7 separate regions of the Homo sapiens genome follow, and all the other regions are linked to region 1. Evidence: promoter capture Hi-C in 16 types of primary human blood cells and fetal thymus (Javierre and others, 2016). All regions are on one chromosome and are shown on one strand. The core of a region is centred on a gene start or on the middle of the fragment in contact, and the rest is flanking DNA. Distances in the headings are between cores, read along the strand shown. Region 1 holds the start of ST7L (suppression of tumorigenicity 7 like). Region 2 overlaps DENND2C (DENN domain containing 2C). Region 3 holds the start of TRIM33 (tripartite motif containing 33). Region 4 has its middle 170 kb from the start of TRIM33. Region 5 overlaps HIPK1 (homeodomain interacting protein kinase 1). Region 6 holds the start of HIPK1 (homeodomain interacting protein kinase 1). Region 7 overlaps PTPN22 (protein tyrosine phosphatase non-receptor type 22).

Evidence for each region. Contacts are between HindIII fragments. The CHiCAGO score rates a contact against its expected background, and 5 or more counts as called.
Region 2: a contact is called between a fragment that was not itself captured here and the fragment with the promoter of ST7L in region 1, in 1 of 17 cell types (non-activated CD4 T cells). The highest score is 5.8, in non-activated CD4 T cells.
Region 3: a contact is called between the fragment with the promoter of TRIM33 here and the fragment with the promoter of ST7L in region 1, in 7 of 17 cell types (naive CD4 T cells, fetal thymus, total CD8 T cells and 4 more). The highest score is 10.3, in naive CD4 T cells.
Region 4: a contact is called between a fragment that was not itself captured here and the fragment with the promoter of ST7L in region 1, in 2 of 17 cell types (total CD8 T cells and naive CD8 T cells). The highest score is 8.4, in total CD8 T cells.
Region 5: a fragment that was not itself captured here is called in contact with the fragment with the promoter of ST7L in region 1 in 1 of 17 cell types (fetal thymus); the score reaches 5.5 in fetal thymus.
Region 6: a fragment that was not itself captured here is called in contact with the fragment with the promoter of ST7L in region 1 in 7 of 17 cell types (fetal thymus, naive CD8 T cells, total CD8 T cells and 4 more); the score reaches 14.9 in fetal thymus.
Region 7: a contact is called between a fragment that was not itself captured here and the fragment with the promoter of ST7L in region 1, in 1 of 17 cell types (naive CD8 T cells). The highest score is 6.0, in naive CD8 T cells.

Annotation. Positions count from the first base shown.
Region 1 is chr1:112,617,372-112,621,484 of GRCh38, reverse strand. It overlaps ST7L (suppression of tumorigenicity 7 like), which reads left to right and starts at 2,344. Exons shown (of 15, transcript NM_017744.5): 1 at 2,344-2,576. The coding sequence starts at 2,372. It overlaps CAPZA1 (capping actin protein of muscle Z-line subunit alpha 1), which reads right to left and starts at 1,653. Exons shown (of 10, transcript NM_006135.3): 1 at 1,602-1,653. The coding sequence starts at 1,640. RefSeq lists enhancers at 1,371-1,820, 973-2,172, 2,281-2,380. The HindIII fragment of the contact is 828 bases long and covers 2,021-2,848 here.
Region 2 is chr1:114,582,448-114,586,560 of GRCh38, reverse strand. It overlaps DENND2C (DENN domain containing 2C), which reads left to right. Exons shown (of 21, transcript NM_001256404.2): 21 at 930-3,711. The coding sequence ends at 961. LOC105378914 (a long non-coding RNA gene) reads right to left here. Exons shown (of 3, transcript XR_947719.4): 2 at 3,923-4,036. Among named protein-coding and RNA genes, the nearest start is that of BCAS2, 2.9 kb to the right of the region's middle. The HindIII fragment of the contact is 4,180 bases long and covers 1-4,101 here.
Region 3 is chr1:114,508,971-114,513,083 of GRCh38, reverse strand. It overlaps TRIM33 (tripartite motif containing 33), which reads left to right and starts at 1,881. Exons shown (of 20, transcript NM_015906.4): 1 at 1,881-2,533. The coding sequence starts at 2,008. LOC124904348 (a long non-coding RNA gene) reads right to left here and starts at 1,746. Exons shown (of 2, transcript XR_007066452.1): 1 at 1,159-1,746. RefSeq lists enhancers at 1-684, 1,545-1,714 and silencers at 1,905-2,014, 2,045-2,344. The HindIII fragment of the contact is 2,747 bases long and covers 1,045-3,791 here.
Region 4 is chr1:114,337,049-114,341,161 of GRCh38, reverse strand. No RefSeq gene overlaps it. Among named protein-coding and RNA genes, the nearest start is that of TRIM33, 170 kb to the left of the region's middle. The HindIII fragment of the contact is 3,280 bases long and covers 1-2,890 here.
Region 5 is chr1:113,944,377-113,948,489 of GRCh38, reverse strand. The region is part of intron 2 of HIPK1 (homeodomain interacting protein kinase 1); the gene reads right to left. Among named protein-coding and RNA genes, the nearest start is that of HIPK1-AS1, 17 kb to the right of the region's middle. The HindIII fragment of the contact is 269 bases long and covers 1,547-1,815 here.
Region 6 is chr1:113,928,219-113,932,331 of GRCh38, reverse strand. It overlaps HIPK1 (homeodomain interacting protein kinase 1), which reads right to left and starts at 3,008. Exons shown (of 16, transcript NM_198268.3): 1 at 2,800-3,008. It overlaps HIPK1-AS1 (HIPK1 antisense RNA 1), which reads left to right and starts at 2,807. Exons shown (of 3, transcript NR_110726.1): 1 at 2,807-2,970; 2 at 3,944-4,088. RefSeq lists silencers at 2,278-2,587, 2,608-2,657 and an enhancer at 2,778-3,097. The HindIII fragment of the contact is 158 bases long and covers 1,765-1,922 here.
Region 7 is chr1:113,817,473-113,821,585 of GRCh38, reverse strand. PTPN22 (protein tyrosine phosphatase non-receptor type 22) reads left to right here. Exons shown (of 21, transcript NM_015967.8): 20 at 1,932-2,009. The region is part of intron 3 of AP4B1-AS1 (AP4B1 antisense RNA 1); the gene reads right to left. Among named protein-coding and RNA genes, the nearest start is that of AP4B1-AS1, 6.9 kb to the right of the region's middle. The HindIII fragment of the contact is 8,296 bases long and covers 1-4,113 here.

The DNA.
Region 1 (4,113 bases), core at 1,095-3,594:
AGCCCAAGAGTTTGAGACCGGCCTGGGCAACAAGACGAAACCCACTCTCTACAAGAAATACAAAAATTAGCTGGACTTGGTGGCGGGTGCCTGTAATCCCAGCTACTCGGGAAGCTGAGGCAGGAGAATAATTTGAACCAGGGAGGCGGAAGTTGCAGTGAGCCGAGCGAGACTCCGTCTCAAAAAAAAAAAAAAATTGTTTAGTTGTATTGTAACAGGATTTTTGCTTAATTTTATTTGAATAGTAACTATTTGCCTTAGAACAATTTATTATAGATCGATTTCCAGCATAGGCTTATACATAAATGTTTTTGTCCTAAATCTTAAACATGTATGAAGATCAGTTTCCAAATAAGAGAAAATCTAACGCTGTTGTCAATGGCTTGTTAAACATTTCAAAATGGCATGCCATATCTACATATATCAAGTTATTCCGTACAGAGGACTTATGGATCATAACAGTCCCCTTCCCATCCCAACTTCTTATTGAAAAAAACACCCAGGTAGATTTACAGAGCACTCAAGGGGACACATTTTCTAATAGCCACAGTGGGAGACAAATGTCATAATTCTTGTCCAATAAGTTGCCTTGTGAGGTCATTCTAAGTTCTACGTGCCCTAAAACCATGTACTTACTGAAAAGCCTGACAAACTGTTATGAAACTGTGCAACTGTCAGAAGAAAAGTTATTCCACCTTAGAATGTGCTCTTGTATTTAAGACCCTTTTCAAGAAATGAGCATACAAAATGCACACTGACAAATTCAACTGATCAAAGACTCCACAGTGGAGCATCAAAGAAGGCAGGATGCTTTGTTCAGTCTTGAACGTGTTAACATAAGGTTTATTATGTGTTACAGAAAACCTTTCTGGAGGTTAAGAAAATCCATCAGCTATTCTAGATTTGTTAACAAGAAACAAAATTTTCAAAAATTATCGTTAAAAGGGATGTGTCTATAGGGAAAGACTGGTGTTCAAATTCTGAAGCAAATGCCCTGAGGCTCACAGATTTATTATAGCGAATCAGACAGGCGACAGTACAGGAGAAAAGTAGTGCATGTGTAGGGAGATGGACAACATTTGGGACCTCTCCTTGTCGAAGAGTCGTGACAGCAAAATCACTTCCTGAGGAAGGAGGAGCAAAAGGGAAGTTAAGAGGCCATCCTGACCAGGAAGTGACTCGCCCTAAACTAACCCCAATTATATCTACAAATGGGGGGATGGGGTGAGCCCCAACTGCTAAAGGCGGTAAAATAACTGCTTTTTGATATGTCGCAACATAACCACCACCCTCTCGCAAAATTACAGAAAAAAGTCCACAGTCACGATCCAATAAAGGAAACGTCTGTTCCCTTGCAGGGAGGCCCCTGGGCTGTGCCTCAGGCCTGAGAGAAAAGGAGAGTCGAGGAACGAGGAACTGGGGCCACCGTGAGGCAGAGGAAAGCCCCCTAAGAGGGAAGCGTCCCGACTGCGGAGAGCGTATGTCAGCATGGACCAAGAAGCTTCTTTTTCCTGGGGACACTGCTAGGCTCCCAACGCAGCCGGGCCGGGCCCCAGTTCCCTGTCGGGGGAGGAGGTAAGAGAGAGAGGCGGACCCCTTACCTTCTCCTCATCCGACACACGATCATCGAAGTCGGCCATCTTGGGCTGTTCTGGCCCAGCCCGGCTACGGGCGCGAGGCAGGCCGGGAAGAAAGCCGAGTGATGGAATCACCGCGGCGGCCGTCGGAAGGACCCGCCCGGAAACGCCGACCAAGAGGGCCCCATGTCAGTTATGCGCGGGAGTGACGTCTCCTAACGCCAGCGCCCGCGCCCGCGCCCCAGGAAGTAGGGTTTGCCTTAGGTGATTTGAAGTCTAATATCTTTCCCAATGAGTTACACTCATTTCCCATCCATCTAATGGGCGCTGGCAGCGTGTTTCGATTATTCTTGGCTTCTGGCCTCCATCCGACCAAATAGCTGTTGCTACTCCTACAAGTTTTTCTGGTGCCCGTTATCTCCACGACAGCCGAATCCAAAGCTTTAAGAGCTGCTCGGCAGCTGGAACGATCGGTGGCTTTTCCAACCCCGGGGGGGGGGCGGTGTGAAAGGTGACCCTCATTTCGTTTGGAAGCGGTAACACTTCGGGGTCACATCTCAGTCCAGTTCCTCCAGAATAGGCGCTGCTGTCCGCCCCTTCCCTGCCCCACGAAAGAACAGGTAGCCCCAATCTTGAGACACGCTCCTCCACCTTCGAAATCTTCTCGGTCCCGGTTCCCCAGGACTCAGCCTTCACAGAGGCCAACTTCAGGTCCGCCACTATCCCAGGATTCCCGACTCCCGGTTTCCTGTCCTTCTCCCCTCCCAGCTCCTGGCGCCTGCGATAGCGGCAAGATGGCGGACCGTGGCGGCGTGGGTGAAGCCGCAGCTGTTGGAGCGTCTCCTGCATCTGTCCCTGGCCTAAACCCGACGCTAGGCTGGAGGGAGCGACTGCGGGCCGGGCTGGCGGGGACTGGGGCCTCGTTGTGGTTCGTGGCGGGGCTGGGGCTGCTTTACGCCCTGAGGATCCCTTTGAGGCTGTGTGAGAATTTGGCAGCGGGTGAGAGGACCAGACCTCCTGGGGCAGGGCGGGGGGCCAGGAGAGATGTCGGGGGCAAGAGCCAAAGGGCAAGAGATTCTCGGTAGTCCTAGAGGGCCTCTGAGGAGTCGATGATGAGCGATCAAGTGAGTTCTTTTTCTTTTGGGCTGCAACCTTGCAGTTGATTGACAAGCCTGCTGCCGTTACCGGCTCCTCCGTAGAACTCTTAAGGTCCGCCCTCTCTCTTATGTCCTCGTTTTTCCATGGAAAAGCCACCTGACAAGCTATAAGCTTCAGGTATTAGGACAGAAGAGTGTCTCAGATTAGGATACGTAATTTATATTGGCTCCCCCACCTCTGGTAGGATCCCTTAAAAGTCACTACTTTGAGTCTCCCGCTGCCCAGCTGAAAGAACTCATATCCAGGCAACAAAGATGAGCACATCTGTAATTTAAAGATTTCAGAGAAAGAAAATGGCATGATTTTAATTGAGGATTCTCTTGTTTTAAAATAGTTCTGTTAAGAAATCGTTTTCGTGATAGTTTTGTCTGTTCTTTTAGGCTTATCTTGAGTAATAAAATAGTACAGGAAGTGAGAGCGCCACAAACAACAGTGGGTTTGCTAGTTCTTTCGACGTCTGTAGAACACTTGCTACGTATTCTGTGCTGACAATACGAACACATGTAAGAAGTGATGATCCTGATGGATTCTCATATACTGTACTATTCTTTAGCTGTAGACAGGATGAAGTGTTTAGGGCCCAGGTCCCCTTACCATGTGATTATATTTCACTCAAGATCTGAGCAGCAACCTCAGAACAAGATATAAGTATTTCCATTACATGATTCAGTATGGTGGTTGATTTTTCTGAAGCAAAAGGCAGCAAATGTCCCCTTTCCTGTTCAGAGATGACATGAAAGACTGTGAGTTAATGTTCGGAAATATTTTGGTTTTTTTGGAGGATAGGTATCAAGTTCAAATATAACTAGCACTCTAAAATAAGCTAAACTGAAGAGCTAATTTGGCATCTCTGTAACAGGTGAATGAAGTGCTTAACGGTGGTTTCTATGCACAGTGTTACTGATTGACTTGTCATTTATTTTTCTACGTTAACCATATGCAACATTTAGATGAGAATAGTTGATTACTATAGATTTTTCTTTTTTACGTTTCGTGTGTGTGTGTGTGTGTGTGTGTGTGTGTGTGTGTGTGAGAGAGAGAAAGACAGACAGAGTCTCCCTTTGTCACCCAGGCTGAAGTGTAGTGGCAAGATCACTGCAGCCTTGAACTCTTCTGCTTAAGCGATCCTCTGGCCTCAGCCTCCCAAGTAGCTGGGACTGCAGGCGTGCACCACCACGACTGGCTGAGTTTTAAATTTTGCGTAGAGACTGGGTCTATTTTATTTGCCCAGGCTGGTCTTGAACTTCTGGCTACCAGTGATCCTCCTGCCTTGGCCTCCCAAAACTCTGAGATTATGGGAGTGAGCCATCCTACCTGGCCAGATTTTTATTTTCTTTCTAAAACCCACAGTACTTATGAGATAATTATTTGAAGTGAA
Region 2 (4,113 bases), core at 762-3,261, 2.0 Mb before region 1:
AGCAGCATTTTTCTCAAAATTTGGGATCCCTCATCAGAGTGGTCTGTGGGGCCATTTCCCAGAGATGAACTTCCCTGATATAAGTTTATTTATTTCATGATATGTTTGCATATCATCATTATTAATCATTTCTAGGACACATTCCTTGGAGAATCTTATAAAAACCATGGTCCTTTTTCCCAGAAAAATGTATTTACAGCATATAAATAAATTTTGCACATAATTTTAGGCTGCTCATATACCCCATGAAGTCTATCTTTGGTACTCCAGATTAAAAACACTTGGTTTAGAGGGACTTCTGAGGCAAAAGAGGATTTCTTACAAGTCTCTAATTTTCTACTTCATACAGAAACACATTTATGATTTTTCAGTAATAGTTAATTAGTATGATACAAGAGAACAGGGGTGTGGCTAGCCTAAAATAATGAATAACCTATATGCTACGATATTTATATTTTGTCTTTGAAATATATGCCCCCTAATTAGGCCCTGTCCTTCACTAGCTGACAGACCATGGACAAATTAGGCCTTAGGCTGTTATTTCATCTTTATACAATGGGGTTAGATTAGATCAGTGGTTCCCAGCTCTGACTACATTTTATAATTTCCAGAGAACTTAAAAAAAATTTTCCCCTGGGCTCCAGGAAATCTCTGGGGAGAAGCCAGGTGATTTTAACCTATAGTCAAGGTTGAAAACCACTGGATTACATGATGTCTGAGTTCTTTTCTGCCGCTACAATTAACTAGACATATGGGGTTTGGGGTTCATTTTTGTTTTTGTTTTGGGGGTTAAACACATCAACTGAGTTTGAGATGTCAGCTTAACTCTTGGGCTGTTCTGAATGACTGACCTGTTAATCCCTTACCTCAAATAATGTACAATAAATAAAAATGAATTGAGCATTCACTGTACTTTTCTTTCCCTTTAGGAAGCAAAATGAAATTTCTGCAAAAGAAATGAAATCTCTGATTGTCTCCATCCTGAATATACAACAGAAAGTGCCAAAGAAAATATTTTTCTAAGGGTCAGGATCCCATGAAGTATTCTACAAAATTCTTGAAATTTTAAAAGGTTAAAGAGCGAGTCAGGCTGTTAGAGGAGGATTCTCCTGTTGCTGCTGTAGTAATCACTGGAGAATTGTTGGGAATGGTCTGGCACCATGCCATCTTTACTCTGTCTCCATTTTTTTTTTATAGCAGCCTTTTCTATGTGATTCTTGGGCTCATTCTCTGTTTTGTGCTTTGTCTGTGAAAGTAGTTGTGTTTCACAAGGAAAAGCCTTGTTGTTGTTACATTTAAAAAATAGCTCAAAGATGAGAATAATGAGAGAAATGCTGAGTTTAAGGTAGTAGAGAGACATGATGGAAATGGAGAACACTAGCCTTATACACATAATTCTCATCACTGAACTATCATGGCCCCTTTAAACCCATGGGCTGTTTGACCTGGGCTAAGGAATAGACTCATCACATATCTCCATTGTTTTGCCTTATATTATATCTAGGGGAATCTCACTTAGGAGGAAGCCCTACTTGTAATATTATAAGGTACTGTTATTAAGTACCTTATAAAATTAGACATCTTGCAACTCCTCCTCCAAATTATGTGGCATTTGAGTAGTTTGCTTGTGCCTCACATGTCAACATTAAACTTTGTGGAGGCTGGATGCAGTGGCTCACACCTGTAATCTCCACCACTTTGGGAGGCTAAGGCAGGAGTTTGAGGGTGGGAGTTTGAGACTAGCCTGGGCAACATAGCAAGATCCCATCTCTACAAAAACATTTTAAAAATAAGTAAATAAATTTAAACTTTGTGAAATTATAGCTAATATGAAAATGTCCTTTCAAGGGCATGGGAGCCACCTTTATTTTTTAGTGTCCACCATGTGCCATGCACTGTGGTATATGTATGCATATCATCTCAACCAATCCTTAAATCAACCTTATGAGATAGATATTTGCATCTCCATTTTACTAATAAACTGAGGCTGGGTGCTATGGCTCACGTCTGTAATCCCAGCACTATGGGAGTCCAAGGCGAGTGGATCATTTGAGGTCAGGAGTTCGAGACCAGCCTGGCAACATGGTGAAACTCTGTCTCTACTAAAAATACACACAAAAAATTAGCTGGGTGTGGTGGCAGGTGCCTGTAATCCTGGCTGCTCGGGAGGCTGAGCCATGAGAATCGCTTGAGCCCAGGAGGCAGAGGTTGCAGTGAGCCGAGATCGCGCCACTGCATTCCAGCCAGGGTGACAGAGCGAGACTCCATCTCAAAAAAAAGAAAAAAGGAAAAGAAAAAAGAAAAAAACAAATTCAAAGAAGTTAAATACGTTGCCCAAAGTTGTACAACACAGAACTGAAGCCAAGACTTTTATGGACACAGAAAAAGTTGGTTAGTCCTACAGATGGAAATTTCATCTCAGTAGGATTATATAGCTATTTCTTTTATTAATAAAAATTTTCTATTAAGTGTACCAGAGCCACTTTTCAGCTCTGAGGATAAGGAACTTTATAGGTGCCTAGATGAGACTCTTTTTATTCCCCTAGAAATGTTGAAATTTTTGCTCTAATTAAATTAGACTCAAAATATGAACATTCCTTGAACATATACCACTTAGTCATCCAGACCTTTAATATCTAAAGTAGTAGTAGTAGTGATTGGAAAGAGAAAGTTTTCAGTGATGGTGCAGTGTTTTTTTTGTGTGTGTATGTGTGTGTGTGTGTGTTTTGTTTCGGTTTTTTTTTTTTTTTTTTGAGATGGAGTTTCGCTCTTTTTGCCCAGGCTGGAGTGCAATGGTGTGATCTCGGCTCACTGCAACCTCCGCCTCCCGGCTTCAAGCAATTCTCCTGCCTCAGCCTCCTGAGTAGCTGGAATTATAGGCACCCGCCACCACACCTGGCTAATTTTGTACTTTTAGTGGAGACGGGGGTTTCACCATGTTGGCCAGGCTGGTCTCGAACTCCTGACCTCAGGTGATCCACCCACCTTGGCCTCCCAAAGTGCTGGGATTACAGGCATGAGTCACTGCACCCGGCCTGTGTGTGTGTGTGTGTGTGTGTGTGTGTGTTTTCAAACTCATGGGCAAATTCAAGTTCAGATGGTGCACTTTTCATTGATTAATGTTATAGCAAATGTCAGTTTGTTTTCTTCAGTTTCTGCTGATGGTTTTAACTGGCACAGAAAGTATTTATTCAACCTTACAAAACTGTGTAAGTTGTATTGTGATACAGTTTATTGACTTGTACAGTATTGTCATTACAACCCATTCAGGTATGCATGAATCTGAAGCAGAACACCATTTAAGACTGGTGCTGTATAATATAATTCCTACAGATGTGGGTCCAGGGAATAGAACTGAGCCTGTCTTTTTTTTAATGTTAAGCAGGTTACCCCCAGTGGGGCTTCTACTAGACATCTCTCCATTTGGTCTCTTCTTACACTCCAACCCAGCAGGAACAGTTAATAATTGGATGTTTATAAAATGGGGGTAAAAGGGTTTACTGTGATGGATCCTGGCTATCCCTCTAGGAGGAGACCTTTGCTTCAGCAATGGTGTCTTCATCCTCGCAGCCTGAAGCTGCTTCATTTCCTTAGGTCTGTTGTGTTTTCTGTAAAGTGTTAGGAATTCTGGATATTTTTGTAAAAGAATCAAGATTTGTATAAAATGTTGTTTACAGATCTTTTAATGAATAAATACATAAACCCCCCACAGATCCCTTGGAGAATTCTTTAAGATCTTTTATGTCACTTAAATCTATAGCTAGCACATTTACCTAATGGTACTTCGGTAATAAGAATTAGTCTTAGACTGACCAGGCTTAATAACGGAGGTCAACATTTCCAGGCTCTTGGCAGACAAAGGCTGGGTCTAGACTGCACACTGGGCAGGGCATATAGTCTGACAACTTTATTTGGTTTTTACCTGCTTAATCAAAGGGAGGCTGCTTAGTCCAGGAGCCATGCAGAAGAGAGTGCATGGGCAGCAGCTTGAGTGGTTCGGAGGCAGTGAGGAATGCCATTCTATTACCGTTAAGTCCTAAAGGCAAAATGACAGGATTTTTAAGGAACTGAGGTTCCTTTTGATACGCAGACCATAAAGCTTCACAATTTTAA
Region 3 (4,113 bases), core at 632-3,131, 1.9 Mb before region 1:
TTGTTATGTGTTCCTCTCCTGCTCTTCTCCAAGACAGGTTCCTTCATCTGATCAACAGGGGCCTTCTTCAATCACCTCTAACCCCTTTTACCCCACTTATTCTTTTCTTCACAGCACTTACCACTCCCTGGCATGTATCTATTCTCAATCTTTTTCTCTATTAGATTGTAAACCCCTTGAATGCAGGGAGCTCCTCTGTTTTGTAATCCCAGTGTATCTCTAAAACACTATGACAATAAAGAGGTCAGGAAACATTTTTGAATAAATTTTAAAAAGTTTTCAGGAGGCTGGGCGCAGTGGCTCATGCCTGTAATGCTAGCATTTCCAGCGGCTGAGGCGGGCCAATCGCTCGGGCCCAGGAGTTTCAGCCTGGGCAACATGGTGAGACCCCAGCCTCTTCGAGGCAAAGGGAAAAAAAAGATCAGCTAAGTCATGGTGGCGTGCATCTACGGTCCCAGGTAATTGCGAGGAGCACGGCTTGAGCCTGGGAAGTCGAGGCTGCAATGAAATGTGATGACGCCACTGCACTCCAGCCAGGGCGACAGAACGAGGAGGTCTCAAAAAAAAAAAAAGTTTTCACGTGGTTTAAGGACTTACAGCACCTTTCTTGGGAACACTAACAGGAGACCAAAGCATTTCATGATCTTAACACTAAAACAGTTGTTGCACTACATAAAATCCTCCAAATACCTTTTTTTTTTTTTCAAATAAAAAGGCAACTTTCTGAAAGCTTTTCTTTTTTTTTTGAGACGGAGTTTCGCTCTGTCGCCCAGGCTGGAGTGTAGTGGCGCTATCTCGGCTCACTGCAGCCTCCGCCTCCTGCCGGGTTCAAGCCATTCTCCTGCCTCAGCCTCCTGAGTAGCTCGGATTACAGGCGCACGCCATTACACCCGGCTAATTTTTATATTTTTAGTAGAGACGGGGTTTCACCATATTGGCCAGGCTGCCCACGAACTCCTGACCTGACCTCAAGTGATCTGCCCGCCTCGGCCTCCCAAAGTGCTGGGATTACAGGCGTGAGCCACTGCGCTTGGCCTGAAAGCTTCTACTACCATTGTTGTAAGGGCATTTGTCACCCAGCTCAACCCAGGACACTTAAAGTGGGACCTCAGAAGGACGCAGTATTGGTTATATCCGTGGCTCTCCAAACTGACATACATAAGAATCAGCTGAAGGGACTTTTCCCCCTCCGTCGGCTCTCTCCCTCACTTCCTGATTCAGGTCTGGGGACTGGCCCTGGCATCTCTGCTTTGAAAAACTCCTCCGTTGATTCTGATACGTAGCAACTCCTGAGAATCACCTTAAGATGCCAAAAATAGCTGTTAAAGAGTTTCTTCCTCACTCGGTCTTTTCAGCCTATTTCTGATAGATCCTCAGTTCAAAAACAAAAAGCAAAAAAAAAACAAAAAAAAAAACCAAAACCAAACAAACAATAAGCCCCGCTTTAGTGCTCCACGGCCACCCAAAGGAACGCGGCTGGTCTACGCACAGCAGAGACCCAGGAGGTCCCGGCGATCGAGCGGCGCGGCAGGTGAAACTTCCGCGGAGACGCCCGGGACACGCTCGCAGGGACCGGAACCGTCCCGGCTACCACCCTTCCGTATGCACCACCGCTGTGTCGGAGTTCATAACCAACCCCAGCCAAAGGCTACCCAGCGTCAACGGCCTCTGGCTTTAAAAAAAAAATCTCCCTTCGGGTTAAAGAGCCGCGGCACTGACGCAAGGAACTGGCTTCGAGGGTCCGGGACCGCTCCGCGCCCGCGAACCGAGTTCCCGCCTCCCTCGGGAGGACGTCCGTGCGTACGTGCGCGTGCCGCAACCGCCCTCCTTCAAACGCGCGACGCGAGGGCGGGGGCGCCGCGTGCGCGCGCGCTCTCGTTGGTTCGCTCTCTCGCTAGCTCTCGGCTGCCGCTCTTGCTGCGGCTGCGGCTGGGGCTGGGGGCGGCGGCGGCGGCGACGCGGGCGGCGGGCGGCGCGGGGCGGTCCGGCGGGTTCAAAGAGGAAAACATGGCGGAAAACAAAGGCGGCGGCGAGGCTGAGAGCGGCGGCGGGGGCAGCGGCAGCGCGCCGGTAACTGCCGGGGCCGCCGGGCCCGCCGCGCAGGAGGCGGAGCCGCCTCTCACCGCGGTGCTGGTGGAGGAGGAGGAGGAGGAAGGCGGCAGGGCCGGCGCTGAGGGCGGCGCGGCCGGGCCCGACGACGGGGGGGTGGCCGCGGCCTCCTCGGGCTCGGCCCAGGCTGCTTCATCTCCTGCGGCCTCAGTGGGCACTGGAGTTGCCGGGGGCGCAGTATCGACGCCGGCTCCAGCTCCAGCCTCGGCTCCCGCTCCGGGTCCCTCGGCAGGGCCGCCTCCTGGACCGCCAGCCTCGCTCCTGGACACCTGCGCCGTGTGTCAGCAGAGCTTGCAGAGCCGGCGTGAGGCGGAGCCCAAGCTGCTGCCCTGTCTTCACTCCTTCTGCCTGCGCTGCCTGCCCGAGCCGGAGCGCCAGCTCAGCGTGCCCATCCCGGGGGGCAGCAACGGCGACATCCAGCAAGGTGAGCCGGAGGCCCTGCCTGGCATCTGGGCCGCAAGGGATTTGCGCAACCCTAGAGGAGCTGGGGACGGAGGTGCTGGGGCCTGGGGCTGCTCGGACGGGCGCCATCCCGAGGGGTCTCTAAGGTGAAAGACTCGCCCCTGGGACACTTTCCAGAGAAGCTGGACCGCAAGAGATAAGGGGAGCATGAAGGGAGGGGTGCCGGCTGCGAGAGGCTGGGGGAGGGGACACTGGCTCCGAGGGAGGGTTTGTGATGTGCGGAACCCGGCCGAGCGCTGGTTCTGGAGCTGGCAGACCCGTACAGTGAGAGAAGGGGGATTTGGGAAACACGTTGTGAGGAAGCGTTTTGGCTGAAAGGGCCCGGGCCAGCGAGGTGTTGAGGGAGTAGGTAAGAGGTAAGGGCAGTGAAGATGGATTGCTTTGGAGGGAGGGGACTTGGCGTGTTCACAGATAGGAGAGAGGAGGACTATGGATTAAATGGAGGTGGAGAGAATATGTTGGAGAGCAAGGGGTCCAGAGAAGGCGCCTGGAAGAAAATTGTAAGATGACATGGGGAAAGAGAAACTCGGAAAGTGGACTGCATGGTTAGGGAAAATCCTAAGGTTTGGGGATGAAGGAGAAATGAACTTTGAAGGAAATTGAGAGTTAGGGAAAGCTGGGCATGAATTTGTTTTAGCTAATTGGCCGTTAATGAGCCCCTAGTGTTGGGGCACTGTGCTAGGATTGAATAAAGTACTCAATGAAGACTTCATTCACAGTCTAACAGGAGAAACATATAACTTGCAGCAGTGGAGGTGAGTCCTCAGTACAATGGTTGTGGCACAATAGAGGAAAGGTCAGGGAAATTTCACAGGAAAGGAAATCCATGAACAGGTTTCTTGAAGAATGAGTACCTCACTGGGTTGGAGGGTATTCAGGGCACAGGACACCCTTCTACATCCCTGGAACTAAAGACTGTGTAGGGTGATTGGTGGAAATTAGATTGGATTGATGGGCTGAAAAGATAAAGGTTTCACAGTCTCTTAAACTCTTGGGATCCAGGTGTAAGGACTTCAGAATATTTTGGGATTTTTCTTTTTTCTGGCAAGGTCTGTTATGTGAGACTTTTATCAGGGTCTGAGTTAACTCTATCAAACACGTTAATGTTTCTACATTGAAACACGTGAATGTCACGCTAATGGGATAGACGATAAATAACCTCCCAGCATTCACAGTGGGTTCTGTTGCAAACCAATGAAAAAAATTAAAATTTCAAAGCTTTTGAATTTCGGGACTGTAGGTAAGCGATTGTGGAGCTGCACTAAAGGGCTTGGAATTCATCCTGTAGAGTGTATCCTCGACATTGTGGACTGAAGGATGTTCCTGGAGGGCTTTCATATCAAGAGGATAAAAGGATCAGATTTCTGATCCAGAAAGATCACTTAGGGCACTTGAGGGATGAGGGAAGGCAAGGCTGGAGACAAGGAGACCAGTTAGGAGAATCCTGGCGGTTATCTAGGAAAGAAATCAACATTTGGAATGGGTAGTAAAGGAATGATATATCAGGTATTACAGAATGAAGCATTTTGGTTTGGGGGAACG
Region 4 (4,113 bases), core at 1-2,500, 1.7 Mb before region 1:
TGGTATCCTCCCCACCTCCTTTAAGGGCATGTCCTGGAGATGACCCATGCTGTGGTTTGAGTGATGGTGTCCCCTCCAACATTTACATATTGAAACTTAATCCTCATAGTGGCAGTATTAAGAGGTGGGGCCTTTTGGGAGATGCTTAGATCATGAGGGCTTCTCCCTTGTGAATAGGAATAAAGCCTTCATAAAAGAGCCTTCACAGAGAGTCTGGCCCTTTTTTGCCCTTCTGTCATGTGAGGACATAGCATTTTTCACCTCTGGAGGATGCTGCAACAAGGCACCATCTTGGAAGCAGAGAGCAGCCCTCACTGACAGCAAACCTACTGGTGCCTTGATCTTGAACTTCCCAGCCTCCAGAACTGTGATAAATAAATTCCTGTTCTTCACAAGTTACCCGGTCTCAGGTATTTTGTTATAGCAGCACAATGGATGAAGATAGCCCACCTTTCTTCTTTCACTTCATTGGCCAGAGCTGGTTATATAACCATATCAGCTGAAAGGAGGCTGGGTTAGAGAGAACAAGAGAGTGGATATTGATGGAGAACTTCAATTTCTACCCCAGACTTCATCAGTTAGCCCCCATCAAGTCAGGTTGGATCATTTTTATTACCATTCCAGCCCTCTTGTCTATTATAACTACCATGATTATCTTGTCTTTTGTAGTTAAGTGCCTGAAATCAGCTTCTGCTATTCTGGTATCTTTCCTTTTCCATTAAAATCAGGGATCCCATTTCAACTGCTTACAATTGCATCTTTAGTTTACGGAAATCAGTCACAAGACTGCTTCTCAGAGATAGAGGTGCTCCCTCACCAATCTGGGCCCTCTTCTGGGCCCTCTTGAGAGAGAATTAGCAGATGAATGGGTAGGTGACACATGATAAATCCTCTCCAGCACTTCTATATTCCGAAATTTTTGGATTATTTCTTCCATTGTTTCATGGAATTTCATTTCACATGAGCCACTGTTGAGCCCACATTTCAAAACAACTGACAGGCAGCAATTAGGGCCACTTGCAATGGCTGGAGATAGCACACTGTCTCCTGATTTCTGGTGAGCATACTCCTGATTAATTTCAGGCTGATTTAAAATAATGCACGGTGCTGGACACTGTGGTGCACCACTGTATCCCCTCTCAGAAATGAAGGACTTACTCTCCCAGCTGCTGGGAGTGGGCCCTCAGCCAGCAGCTCACTCTGGGGATGCCTTGAGTGAAGAAATGTCCCTAGCCCAAGGTCATGTCCCCATCATGAAGCAGCCACATCCAACGACTGGTCAAAGTTGGGTTAACAAAGGCTGGCTCCTTGGTTCCAACTCAGAAGAGCTCTAAATGACCATCTAGCTCCAGAGCTATGCTAATTGTGCGCACAGCACAACTGCTTCCTTGCCCAAGGCTGCTTCTGTCCCTTCTGCTCCACAGGGGTGGTCTCAAGCTCACTTCCTGATAAAGGTCTTGCTTGCTAATCTCCACCTTAGAATCTGCTTATCTGAGTCTTTTGGTGGGGATTTAACTTTTTAAGTAATCAAAAGCTCCACTTCCTGCTTCCAGGTCATGCGAGAGTCTGACTCTATTTACAGACTTATGAGCCATGAGTGACGGCGTGGAGGAAAGAGGCATGAGCAGAGCTGGCTTCTTTCTGTGAGGAAGTCTGTGCACAGAGTTAGAGCATCTTCAAACTACGCAGGAGCAGCCTCATCAGACAAGGGAGGGACATGCCTTTTAGCTGGCAAGAGAGACCCGGAGGGTTCCATGTTTGGTGTTCTATGAGTCTCCGAGATCTTCCCAAATGTCCTTATTACAATTTTGGGGGTCGCTGTCTTTTTTTGGGGCGGGGACATGGTTTTTCTCTGTCGTCCAGGATGGAGTGCAGTGGTGCAGTCTTGGCTCACTGCAGCCTCAACCTCCCAGGCTAAGTGATCTTCCCACTTCAGCTTTCTGAATAGCTGAGACTACAGGTATGCAACACCATGCTCAGTTAATTTTTTTTGTAGAGATGAGGTCTCAGTATATTGTCCAGGCTAGTCTTAAACTCCTGAGCTCAAGTGATCCTCCTGCCTTGACTTCCCAAAGTGTAGGATTATAGGCGTGAGCCATCGTGCCCCATGTAGGGGCCACAGTCCTTTCTGAACAATGCCCTATCCTTTATATAACATACCTAGGGAGTTTTGATATAGAAGTTAAGAAATTACTTAGGCAGATAGTGAGGGTAGGGAAGTCCTCAGTAAGATTTTCCTTTTAATGAAAAGCAGCCCCAAATCATTTTCCCTTCTAACAAAGAGCAGCCTGTAAAATTGAGCTGATAGATACCGGCAGTTGTGCCAATCATGTTCAAAATGGTGGCCCCATCTTCCCTTCTCTTTATCAGCCACGTGTACAGTAAAAAGGAGACAAGGTGGCACGGGTCAGCAGGAGAGTTCATTTACATAATAAGATTAGGGCAGGGTAGCCAGCCTTCCCCGGGGCTGTGTAAACATCATACCTGATCCAACCAATCTGTGAGCCCTACGTAAATCAGGCGACATCTCCTCAAGCTGGACTATAAAACCCAGTGCCTCCTCCACCAGCTGGTCATTTTCTGTTGGGAGACCCCTCTCTAGAGAGAGAGCTGTTTCTATTTCTCTTCTCTTCTCTCTATTAAATCTCTGCTCCTAAACTCCTCGTGTGTCTCCCTGTCCTAAATTTTCCCGGCGCGAGATGACGAACCCCAGGGTATATACCCTGGACCATGTAGCTGCTTCAGTATGTCACCTCAGCAGATGTTGAAATTTGGCAATGCACTTCTGTGCTTGGCTTTCAGCTATGCTAGCCTTAAAAGACTGTAAATAAGATATCATTTTAGCACATTACTGGAAAGTCTTTGAGTTGGACATTTAGAGATTTAAGCTTGTCTTCTTTTTTTTTTTTTTTTAACTCTCTTGTTCTCTTGGGAAAAGCTACATTTACAACAGTCTGTATGACTCAAGCTCTTCATTTCATTCTATGCAAGTAGCGATATGGTCTTCAAAGTTTTGCCTTAATGAATTCTTCATTCCAGGTGACTATAAGTGAGCATTTAATTTGAGCAATTTACCACTGTGAGCCACTGACTGCCAGATTCCCTGAATATCAACTGGATTTTAGTATTCTGACTAGACTTATAACCAATCTTCCGGCAAACTCTCCATTTCCTTGTGGCTCTGTCTTGTTGTAAATTTCTTTACTAGTTGGGGTTCTTCAGTGCAAACAACAGTAACCCACTTTGGATGACTTAATCAGAAAAGGAAATGATTTAGGGAGGATATTGGATAGCTCACAGAGACTGCAGTGGGGCTGGAGAACCAGGTTTAGAAAATGAGCAGGAGCCAGGGTAGGATGGGGTGGGGTATACTATGGCCACCCCCACAGGATGCAGATACTCCTGCTTGGACCAACACAGGACGCTGGATGTTACCACTGGCGTCATTTGAATGAAATTTCAGCTATCCCCTGCTTTTTTGTTTCACTAATGAACAAAGCATTGAGCAGAATTAGCTGATTGGCAATACTTGGGTCATGTGACTCATGACCTCAGATGTCATGGAGAGTAAGTATCTGGCCTTTTGGACTTTTGGAGAATTAGTGGGTGTGATGTCTCCGACCAAATCCATACAATGGGAGAGCCTCTGGCATATAAAGTAGGTTCATAAGATGCAGAGCAGAAACCGAACAAAACCAAACCAAGTTCATTACATCCCTCTCCCTCTTTTCTAATAGATTTCCAGTCATTTCCACTTGGATACCCGACAGGCTGCTCAAGCTCCCCATATCAAAACTAGAGTCGTCATCTAACCGAATATGCTTCTTCTTCATCCCTCTTACATCCCTCAACTCAGTTGGTGACATTTGTCTCCATTCATTCAGTTGTCTCAGCTAGGATCCCAAGAGGCTTCCTTGACTTACTTTCCATATCCAATCAGTTACCGTGTCTTTTATTATTTATTTATTTATTTTTCCCAAGATAGAGTCTCGCTGTGTCATGCAGGCTGGAATGCAGTGGCACAATCTCGGCTCACTGCAACCTCCGCCTCCCGGGTTCAAGCAATTCTGCTTCAGTCTCTCAAGAAGCTGGATGACAGGTGCGTGCCACCTT
Region 5 (4,113 bases), core at 432-2,931, 1.3 Mb before region 1:
CTTGAGCAGGAGTTTGAGACCAGCCTAGGCAACACAGCAAGACCCAATCTCTACCAAAAAAATTTAAAAAATTAGCCAGGTATGGTGGTGCATGCCTGCAGTTCTAGCTACTCAGGAAGCTGAGGTGGAAGGATCACTTGAGCCCAGGAGGTCAAGGCTGCAGTGAGCCATGATTGCGCCACTGCACTCCAGCCTGAGACCCTGTCTCAAAAACAAACAAAAAAGCAGTAAGGCTGCTTAGTTCACTGAGGGTTTTGTATTATTTGGGCCTATAAATGTTAGACTTACCCAAACTCTACGAAGCAAAAAGACAAGTTATTTTCTACTTTACTGAACAGTAAGGCATCACTAGAGCAGGTTTATCTCTAAGGACTGAATACTTTAAACTGTGAATCCAGATTATAATTATTAGAATTATTTTCATTACATCTTTCCTCTTGGCCTCCTTATTTCTTAATCCCTCAATATAAACTCTACAGACACGTAAAACTCTGGTTCTACCTCATTTGTGTAATAAGGAAACAGAGTTAGATAATTACTCTTCTAGGTCCCTTTCCAGCTGTAACATTCCAACAACTGGGCAGTAAAAAAGGTTATCTACAGAAGCACAGGAAAGTGAAAGAAACTGTTAAAAACTGGCAGTGTTCACTTCAGTAGGAAAATGGCATTAATTGTGCTTTGAACATGGCAAGTCTCCTCTTTGAAGACACATCCCATCCTTAAAAAACAAATACTAAACAGGCTCTGGTTATTACAGCTAAGTGATAGAAACAACAATCCCTGCCTTTTGATTCCCCAACTTCAAACTTCTTTAAGTTGAAAAATTCTTCCAACCAACATTGTTGAGGTTAATTTCACTGGCACCCAGAGCAAGCTAAGGTTAGGATCACTTAACACAAATCACTCTGATTATTTTCATGAACATTTTCGTTTCTTTCTTCCTATCTCAGAGACATCAAACCTACTTACTTACCAATTAGAGAGGTTACATAAAACCTAACTTCCTGCATCAGTGGCTTAGGTGAAACTATATTTTGACTGCCAGAGGAAATTAGATTATTTGTTTGTCTAGGATAAATGGAAGATACGTTTTCCTTCTCTAGACCTTTTCCTTCCGTAAGTAACAAAGTGATTCAGCTTGAAATAAAGGCTGGCTAGTTTGTTCAGTAGGGAAAAACATTCAGCCTGTAAGCATGGCAAACCTTTGTCTCTAAAACTCAAGCCCGAAAGACAGGAGCTTTGCTTGGAGTCTGTGCACATTTACAGTGAGCCAGAGAGTAAAGTATATTATTTCCACTGCCTGAATCATTTAGCCATGCCCAGGGCCAATGGACACAGCAAGTTGGCAAATTTATGTGAGCTGATAATACTGGCATATTATCAGAAAGACAAAGCAAGGTAAACTAAAAAGGTGGGTAAGAGAAGGACTAGCTTTGGAGTCAAAATGCTTCACCAGCCAAACAGATTTCACAGAGGTTTTTTGAAAGACAGAAGGGTGAGGACTTAATGGACTCTAATATGGCAACAAAGCAACATCAAAGAAGCTTAAGAGGACCACTGCGGGTAAAACTAGTGATAAAGAAGGAATGCCTGAGCTGCTGTTCCATCTGCCTTAGGCTCATTATCAAGTATTACTGTGACACAACAGAACACTCATGTTAAATCCTAAACACTGTCAAGCCCTGGGCACTGAACTTCAGTATACAGAGTAATTACTCAGTAATACACAGAATGAACTCCTGTTTTTAAGAGGCAAACTTAGCTCCACTTAAAATTATAGTCAACAACTATATTGCAGTGAATTTAAAGAAAGCTTTGTCGAAGGGTAACTTTGAAGATTTGAAAACCTTAGTTTCTATAAAAAACAAAACCAAAATGAATCAATTGACAGCTTAAATTAAAAGGATAAAAAATACAAAGATCAGCAACCTAACACTGAAAATTATTCAAATGAATTACACATTACAGAAAGCTAAGCAGCCAAATAATTCATTTTATTTTGTATTAACATGCCCCAATTATAACAAAGCCAAATAATTTTTATCTCCTATTGCTCTCCCTTTTTCAATTTAAAAACTACTCTGTTATCACAAGAGAATGCACTTTGTCTTTGACAGGGCAAACAAATAGTTAAAGAACACCTGCAGGCACAGAGTCAAGACAGAAAGGAAGAGCTGATCAGCCCTCTTCCTTCAGCTGTGGTCTGCCTAGTCCCTCCTGAGGACTCAAAATGGGATGCTGCGCTGAATTCTTCAGTGCACCTGTAGAGTATGTTATATATATGTTATGTTGGTGTGGCTGGTGGTGAGACTGCTCAAAGGAGAGCATTAAAAAGCAAATGTAGTTGGAACCTAAATCTCCCAAGGCATAAATAAATAAATGGAGATGACATTCTTAAAGTTAGCCAAGGTTGCCTAGGGCAGCATAAAACCAGAAAACAAAGGCTCTAAGAGTTTATTTACCTTACCTCAAGTAAAAAATACCAGTTTTATAAAACTGTGAAAAGATATAAAGAAATAAGGATGGACTGACTTACTATTAAGCTGTCAATACTACCCAAAGTCATCTACAGATTCATCGCTATCCTTAATAAAAAGCAATTATGGTTTTTGTATAAAATAGAAAAACCCATCCTAAAATTTATATGGACCCTCAAAGACCCCAAATAGCCAAAACAATCTTGAAAAAGAACAAAGTTGGAGGTCTCACACTTCCTGATTTCAAACTTACTACAAAGCTACAATAATCAAAACAATGTGGTACTGGCATAAAGACATATATAGATTAATGGAATAGAGAGCCCAACATTGAAAATGGGAAAGCAATAGAAGATAAGAATTATTTGTATATATGTTCAAATGATTCCAACAAGGGTGCCCAAACCACCCAATGCAGAAAGGACAATCTTCTTAGCAAATGGTGTTTGAAGAACTGAATAGTCACATGCCAAAGAATTACACTGGATTTGTACCTTGGACCATAGACAAAAATCAACAAAGAATCAAAGACCAAAATATAAGAGCTAAAACTATAAAACTCTTAGCAGAAAACATAGGGGAAAATCTGTATGATTTCGACTTAACAGTGACTTCTTGGATATGTCACCAAAAGCACAAGCAACCAAAGAAAAAGTAGACAAACTGCACTTCACCAAAGTTAAAAACTTTTCTGTGTCAAACACTATCAACAGGTAAAAAGGCAACCCAAGGAATAGATGAAAATTAAGTATATAGAGTATACAACTCAACAACAAAAAGCCCAATTCAAGAAATGAGGAAAGGACTTAAATAGACATTTCTCCAAAGAAGATATACAGATGTCGGGCACATAAAAAAATGCCAGGCTGGGCATGGTGGCTCATGTCTGTAATCCCAGCACTTTGGGTTGCCGAGGCGGGCATATCACTTGAGCCTATGAGTTTGAGACCAGCCTGGGCAACACAGTGAAACCCCGTCTCTACTAAAAATACAAAACACTAGTCAGGTGTGGGGGTGCATGCCCGTAGTCTCAGGTACCCGAAAGGCTAAGGTGGGAGGACTGCTTGAGCCTGAGAGGTCATGGCTGCAGTAAGCCATGATTGCACAACTGCACCCCAGCCTGGGTGACAAAGTGGGACTCTGTCTCAAAACAAAACAAAATAAAACAAATGCTCAACATCATTAATCATTAGGGAAATACAAATCAAAACCACAATGAGATACCACTTCACACCCATAAGAATGGCTATTATTGACCGGGCCCGGTGGCTCATGCCTGTAATCCCAGCACTTCATCACGAGGTCAAGAGATCGAGACCATCCCGGCCAACATGGTGAAACCCTGTCTCTACTAAAAATACAAAAATTAGCTGGGCATGGTGGCACCTGTATTCCCAGCTACTCAGGAGGCCAAGCTAGGAGAACTGCTTGAACCTGTGAGGTGGAGGTTGCAGTGAACCGAGATTGTGCCACTGCACTCCAGCCTGGCAACAGAGCAAGACTCCATCTCAAAAAAAAAACAAAAAAAAAACAAAAAAAAACTATTATTGGCCAGGCATAGTGGCTCATGCCTGTAATCCCAGCACTTTGGGAGGCCAAGGTGGGCAGATCACCTGAGGTCAGGAGTTCGAGACCA
Region 6 (4,113 bases), core at 594-3,093, 1.3 Mb before region 1:
TGAGTAGCAATGCTGGCAAAGGTCTTCTCATTCTTTTTCCTTAAGCACTCTGGGAAAGCACTGTACCAGGTACCCTTAAAGAATCTAAAAGAAATGTAAGTTTCCTTACCTTCAAAAAACTTAAAATGTTGCTGAAATGATATAACACATGAAAAAGAAAGAAAAATATGAAAACAGGATGTAAATTTTTCAAGTGCCAAATTATGCACTACAGGAATATATTAGGCATTTAGGAGCTGGGTTCCAACAACTAAAGGGAAGATCAGGAACAAAAACAAAAGGAACCAAAAGACAAACCAGTGATTGTTGAAGTGGTACTTAAAGGAAAATAATCTTGATGACTTGTGTTCAGAATGGCACAAAGGGAGAGGAAGGGAAGATAACGGGAGGAATAATAGTAAATTTTTTTTAAAAAGACCTAAAAAATACAGACTGCTGTTATACACTCATGCAGGTGGCAGATCAAGCAGCTCATGTTTGCAAAATTACTTCAAATTACAAGACCAGTTACAATATATAACTAACAAGCTGCACAAGTTCCAAGTGTAAGAACTTTACAAGGCCGGTATGACTCACTGATTTGTACCAACAAATCATTGATGGAGCTGTGCTTATAAAAACAAAAGCACAGAATGAAAGAAGTTTATTTTCCAAAGAATTGTGAACTTTGAGATTATCTCTTCTTTTTTTTTCTTTTAGAAGGAAGTTCTGGTTTGGTTTGAAGTCTCAAGTTACCAACGAACTTGCTCAAAAAACCACAAAACTACAGTGTCGAGAGATAAACTATTCATGAAGGTATCACCAGCAAAAGTTCTACTTGCCAACCAGAGCCAGTATATTTATAAGATCTCATTCACCATTTTATTCTAAGATACTTTACTGGCTTGGCTGCCTCCAGTTCCAACCGCAAGTACTTTACTAAAATATCTTTCAAGCCAGGAACAGTATCTTAAAGTCAATGCCACCCTTCATCATAACAGTATTATAACACAGAACCCTGAGATAATTACATGTAAAGATCCAAAATCACCAGCTGAATAATGAAAATTAGGTCAAATGATTTGTTAGATTTTAAAATGTTTTATAGAAAGCTTTAGGCTTCCATATGAAAAAAGCTAGTAATAGTTTGCATTCTCTATAATCTTACAAAAAAAAAAAAAAAACCCACAGACCAGAGATCAAAAATAGCTTTACACAAACAAAAGGAAAATTGTAGGTTTGCTGAGGGCATCAGCCACTTAATTTAACCCTATTTCATCAAGAGCGGGAAGCCACACTGCTGTTTTCACCAGTTACTAAGAAACAAGATAAAGGACAGATTGGGACAGAGAGTCTATAGCTGAAAGTATTATGTTGATGCAATTACTGAGAATTCCCAAAGTGTCACTAATAGACAAGAAAGAGCATCTAGGACTGCCTCTAAATGAGTCTACCTACAACAGAATCAGTGATTAAGTAAAGAAAAGACTTACTGGAGCTTGGGGGTTTTCCCCCCCTCTTCCCTACCCGCATCCTCCCATCCTGAACCCCCCTCCCCAAGTAGGAAAGAAAGCTCGCCCAGCATAAACACAGGCCATTGCTCACAGCTCGTCACCACAACAAACTGGAGGTTAGACCAACGCTCCTGGAGACGGAACTCCACGTCTTGGTTGCTAAGCACAAAAAGGGGACTCTTCCCCACAGACCTGTGAACAGTGTGGGCCTTACCAGAATTTTGGTTGTTTCTCCACCTTCCCCCTCCCTTTTGTTTTTTTAACGAAAGCTTTGAAAGTGGTGGCAGCAAAAGTTTCCCTTTGGGCCAGACCTCTAGATCTCCCTTGTACAGATATACATTAGGTGGGCTGGTCTCACGTAGTCTCCACCGTCATTACGAATTACAAGCCTAACGACTACAGAACATCAGCGGAGACGACAGAAAAGCTTCCACACCCACCCCACTGTCGTCCTCTCCAGGCACGGCTTCCTGGTCCCAAACAGCACAAATAACCCAAAACCATGGTGATAAGCGGAGCTGTGAAGTACACACGCACAAGCCACACACTGGGAACCTGCCACGACAGCCGGGGAAAAAACCGGCCGAGTGAGGAGACGCAAGGCGGTCCCCTGTCACTTAAGGACAACACGCCCAGGCGAGAAGTGGCAGGAGGCAGGGGGAGTTGCCCCGAAAACCAGCCCGGAGCCTCCCCACCTTCCTGGGAAGGCAATCCCCTCAGCGGCAGTGAGCGGCCGGGCCGCAAGACGCGGCGCCCGGTCCCAGGCAGGGGCCCTTTGAGGAAGGCGCCCCCGGCAGGCTGGGCGCTCCAGGAGAGCCGGCGGCCGGCCCGGCCCCGCCTCAGGGAGCTGAGGGGAAGTCGCTCCCCGCCGAGGACCCCTCCTGCCCGTCCCCACTCACCGCCGGTGTGTCTGGTTCTCAGCCGCGAGCTGGGGCTGCCGTGAGGAGGCGGCGGAGGAGACGAGATCTGGGGCCCCGCAGCCGGGTCATCATACCCCCCGCGCGAGCCGGCCCGGGCCCCGGCCCCCGCCCCCCGGAGCCGTCCCCGCGCCCGTCCCGCAGGGGGAGCCTCCTCAGCCTCCCTCCCGCTCCACCACCCAGCCCCTTCCCGCCGCCGCCGCCGCCGCCTCAGCCCCGCGCGCTCCCGCCTCGGCCTCCTGCTGCCGTCCGGGGCTACCGCCGGGCCCCTTGCTCCGCAGCCGCCGTTGTCGCCAGACCCGACGAACGGAATGCCGAGCGGCCGTCCCTCAACCCGGCCGGCCCCGCCTCGCCGGAACTATTCACCCGCCCCGCGCCATGACACCTACTGAGGCGGAAGTGCAGCTGAATGGACTCTCTAGGACGATCGCATAGTACTGATTGCAGTAGGAGTCGGTGGGCCTCGAGTAGGTGGGCCTCCGTAGGGAGCCAGCGTGGATCGAGTGCGGGGCCTGGACTTCCCGCCCCCTCCGCACTGCAGACTCTGCGGTGATTTAAAGGTGCCTGGCGGTGGTACGGGATCCAACTGTAAAATGTCATCCCAGCTAGTGTGACATCACCACAGTTTAGTGTGACACCCCCAGAGCTTGGGCAGTGTACGGGACGACAGTGCCTAGCAGAGGAGCTTCACTGCCGGTGAGGGATTACCTCAGGTTAGGCTTTAATGTTTCGTTGCCGTCTAGAGACGTTCTAGCAATGTGACATCTGTGTACCATATCTGGAAGTCTCCCTGTACGTCAAGAGCCCCTTAGGGGAGTCTCCCATTGCCGCCGTGGGAACCTGTGTTTACATTACGAGGAGAGAGAATAGCTGTACTCTGAACTCAAACGCTCAAAACATGCAGTGAGCGAATGCTAGCATAATTTTCTTGCCTCTACCAGAAGGAAGGCTGGGTATTTAGGAAACAGAACGCGTTGGGCACAACATTCTGAGAAAATGGACACAGAAAATTAGGTTATCCTAATAGAAAAGCAGTTGCATCTCCCAAAGTCAAGAGATTCTGTAGGACTTCCGATGTATCTCCTGCTGTGTAAAATATTCAGGTTCCTGAAGTGGGGGACATTTTTAGGGCAACTGTAATTTCTTCATTTTTTCCATCCCACAAGTGCTGGAGGCAGCAGTGATCTGAGCTCTAGAAAGTGACTGTCCGTCACCATCGGTATTTGCATATACTCTGTGAGGAGAAGGGCAGTTGTGGCTAAGACAAAATTCTACTATCAAGTTTTGTTTCTCAAATCTCACTCATTAACATCTTTGATTTCCTTGGATCCCCATAACACACACAGAAAACTATGATTTGTGTAAAATGCGCTGAAGTACCTTTTAAGGGAAGTCATTTGGCTTTCTCTCTGGCTTAACAACACGGGGAGCAGTTCCATTTTATCTGGAACAGGGAAGTTTATTTCCCTAGAGAACTAGGGTTACCAAAAATGTTCGATCCCACAAGGCAGTTTTGTTTGCATATTTTCACAGAAACTTCCTTCTACTACTTAAAGTCCTCACATTGGGCTGACCTGGGAAACATGAAGATAAAAAGAGTGGGTAAACATGCCTGCTTGATGAGCCAGAAAAAAAGGCAGAAACCTGTGGTCTGGGTAGAACAGATCCTGCTCAGAATGTAAGCTTCAAACATGTTTATCATG
Region 7 (4,113 bases), core at 1,049-3,548, 1.2 Mb before region 1:
CTTTGGGAGGCCAAGGCAGGCAGATCACGAGGTCAGGAGTTTGAGACCAGCCTGGCCAACATGGTGAAACCCCATCTCTACTAAAAATACAAAAAATTTACCCAGGCGTGTTGGCATGCACCTGTAGTCCCAGGTCCTCGGGAGGCTGAGGCAGGAGAATCGCTTGAACCTGGGAGGCGGTGGTTGTGGTGAGCCGAGATTGTGCCATTGCACTCCAGCCTGGGCGACAGAGTGAGACTGTCTCAAAAAAAACCCCAAAACAAACAAACAAAACAAAACAAAACAAAAAAATCCATGATGAGCCAAAATAACAAAATAGCAGTTTCCTCTGATATATATGTGTGGAATCTGTGCCTCCTTTGTAAAAAAAACAATATTCTCCTTTGAGACAATTTTGTTTTCTTTCTGAAGGATGTATATAACTTTCAGCTCCTATGCAGTATACAGATTACTGATATCTCCTGAACTTCCTCACCTTTACTACTTTCTATTAATGTCTCTATCTTCAGTGCCTACAGCAATGCTTAGCACATAGTAAGTATTTAAATATGAATAGTATTTTATACTTATACTTTATATTAAGTATTTTAATATATTAAGTATAATAATTATACTTACTATAGTAATATAGTAAGTACAAAATAAATATGTATCTTAATTAGATCTGATTGAAATTCAGTATGTAGTCTAGTGATTCATACTCAGGTACCTCCTCGAAAAGGAAGGTGTTTCTAGAATCCTAGTATTACGTATGCATGTGCAAATATGCATACCTAATATGCATATGCAGTTCACACAGTGCATTCTGAAAATGTTGAAAACAACACAAAAACACTTAATATCTTCCCATTTATATGCAATTTGTTAGAAAGTTTATACAAACCTGAAATTATCTTTTTCCATTGCCAAGACAGAGAATGTGCAAAATGTGGACAAAGTTTTTAAGGGACTGTTTTCAAAACTGCAGAAACTGATACATGAATATATCAATGTACATATATGACCTATGAGTAACTTATAAGTTAACTTATACCTATAAGTAACTAAAATAGCAAAACAAAGCAGCATAACAATGCTTTTGGGAGATTATTGGCCTAAATAATAATAATTATTATGTTTTTTTGAGACAGGGTCTTGCTCTGTCACCCAGTCTGGATGGAGTGCAGTGGCGCAATCTGGGCTCACCTCATCCCTCTGCCTCCCAGGTTGGATCAATTTTTGTGCCTCAGCCTCCCAAGTAGCTGGGATTAGAGATTTGCAACACCATGCCTCGCTAATTTTTTTTTGTATTTTTAGTAGAGACGGGGTTTCACCATGTTGGACAGGCTGGTCTCGTACTCCTGGCCTCAAGTTATCTGCCTGCCTCAGCCTCCCAAAGTACTGGGATTACAGGCGTGAGTCACCGTGCCCGGTTATGGGCCTAAATTAGAATCACTTATAATTAGAAAAAAATCAGGCTGGAAAGTGGAATAAAAAAAGAGATTCCAGGGTAGAGGATTATATAATACAAATAAAAGACTTGTCATGGATGAATTATTGTGGAGAAGAAATGATGTAAAAATGTACTAAGAGTGGCCAGAGGAAAAAGTAATATGAAGTCCAAAGCCAAAATGTGAATTTCAAAAAAAAAAACAAAAAAATGCTGATTCATGATATATTGGATCTTATTTCCTTAGCAATTTTCTTTAGTGTTGGGCTTTACTATACAATCTGTTTGCAAAGAAAAGAAACCTTTTAAGAAAAAAACCAAAAATACAAATGAGAATATTATAGTGTCAACCCATTTGTAAGCACCTACATTTTGTTAACATTTGACAGTGATATGTTTATTTGGGATTATTAATTACTCTTAACAATTATATGTGATCTGATCAACAGTCATCTGAGTCTGTCTTTAGTCTTTCCCTTATATTTTTTTCTTTTGATTCTAGGTATCTGTAATTCTTGCCCACCAAACAAGCCTGCAGAATCTGTTCAGTCAAATAACTCCAGCTCATTTCTGAATTTTGGTATGTGTGTTATTTTACTGAAGAGTTAAAAAAATTACCTAAATTACTCATTTACAGTATAACTGATTCAACTTTAAATATGATTTTAGGTTGCATGTATAGGTCCTTATGTTTATATTCTTTTCCATGCAATTTATCTTTTTATTTTTAACCTTAACTACCTCTTAACATCTCACACAGAACTAAATTATCTAGTATATGTGGAAAATAAAGCTAGGTAACCAAATTATTGTGTTGGCATGTAGTAAATAAATATGACTATCCAAATGGAGAAATTGAGATGCTGTGATATTCTGGTTCATATCTAAAGCAAATTTATAAAAAACATAGAAGTATGATAAAAAGAACAGCAGTTGCCACTATTTAATCTTATATAACTAATTCAATAGTAGGAAATGAAGCACAATTCTGACGGTTTTAAGGTTTGCTTACCCAATTGCTCCTAAGTATAAGCTATAAACTTAAAACAATAATTTTATATTCTTCTAAGCATTCTATTGTCCTATGTGATACATATTTATGTACTATTTAAAGTAGTATCAGGTATAATTTTTTGTAAGAATAGCAATTAGTGGTAGGCTATTACTACTAAAAATTATTATTAACCAATCCCCTTGAAAGAGTGTGAGGCCTCCAGGAGTCCCTGAATCACACTTTGAGAACTGCCACTTAATGGTATTGTCCTTACTTACACAATCAAAATTAGGTTGCCGCCACATGCAGACTGTAGGTGGCAAGAAAAGAGGAAAAAGTGGAGGTGTGGCCTCCTCTTCTTACTCTTCTGGTCTTCAAAGGCACTGGCCTGGAAATGGCCAGATCATATCAGCTCATATTCCCTTGAAGAGAACTTAGACATGTGCTATAACTAAATTGCAAAAGAGACTGGGAAATGTAATATTGCTGGGCAGACAGACAAAATTGCCTACACACAATTCTATTTGAGGAAGAAGCAAAGAAGATATTGGTGGATGGGGAGCAATCTCTGCCACGCCTAAGTTAAGAGTCCCTGTGTCATCTTCACAAAATGTTTAACTAAAATTTCTGGATCTGTCTTTTTTGCCATAAAATTTTGTTTGGATTTCATTAACTCTGAGGTTTAAAAAGTTATAATTTAGGCTGGGAGGGGTGGCTCACATCTGTAATCCCAGCACTTTTGGAGGCTGAGGCGGGCGGATCATGAGGTCAAGAGATCGAGACCATCTTGGCCAACATGGTGAAACCCTGTCTCTACTAAAAATACAAAAATTAGCTGGGCATGGTGGTACATGCCTCTAATCCCAGCTACTCAGGAGGCAGAGGCAGGAGAATCGCTTGAACCAGGGAGTCGGAGGTTGCAGTGAGCTGAGATTGCGCCACTGCACTCCATCCCGGCAACAGAGCGAGACTCCATCTCAAAAAAAAAAGTTATAATTTAAAAAATAAGTTATGATTTATATGAAATCATTTAGCTAAAACATTCACACAGAATATTGTAAAAACTATGAAAAAAGCAAGCCAGGTGGTTCATGCCTATAATCCCAGCACTTTGGGAGGTTGAGGTGGGAGGGTCCCTTGAGCCCAGGAGTTGAAGACCAGTCTGGGCAACATAGCAAGACCATCTCATTTAAAAAAAAAAAAGGAAAAAAGAAAAAGAAAAAAGCTCCCAACTTTACCTGGAACATAAATGTTCTCTGCTTCCTTCTTTACTCTAAATCAGTGATACAACTTGAGTACTCTAGGCCTACCTAGCTTAACAACAGTCTACATAATCTAATATGAGGATAAAATATTAGAGAGCTGCCTCCATGTTGCTTCCTCTCAAATATGCCTAGATTTGAACATTTTTCCTACTTAAAAAGCAGCATTTTCATGCCTGTAATTCCAGCACTTTGGGAGGCTGAGGAGGGAGGATTACTTGGGGCCAGAAGTTTGAGACCAGCCTAAGCAACACAGTGAGACTCTGTCTCTACAAAAAAATGTTTTTTTTTTAGAACTAGCCAGGCATGGTGGCATGTGCCTGTAGTCCCAGCTACTCAGGAGGCTGAGGTGGGAGGATCACTTGAGCCCAGGAGGTTGAGGCTGCAGTGAGCCGTGATCATGCCACTGCACTCTAGCCTGGGCGACA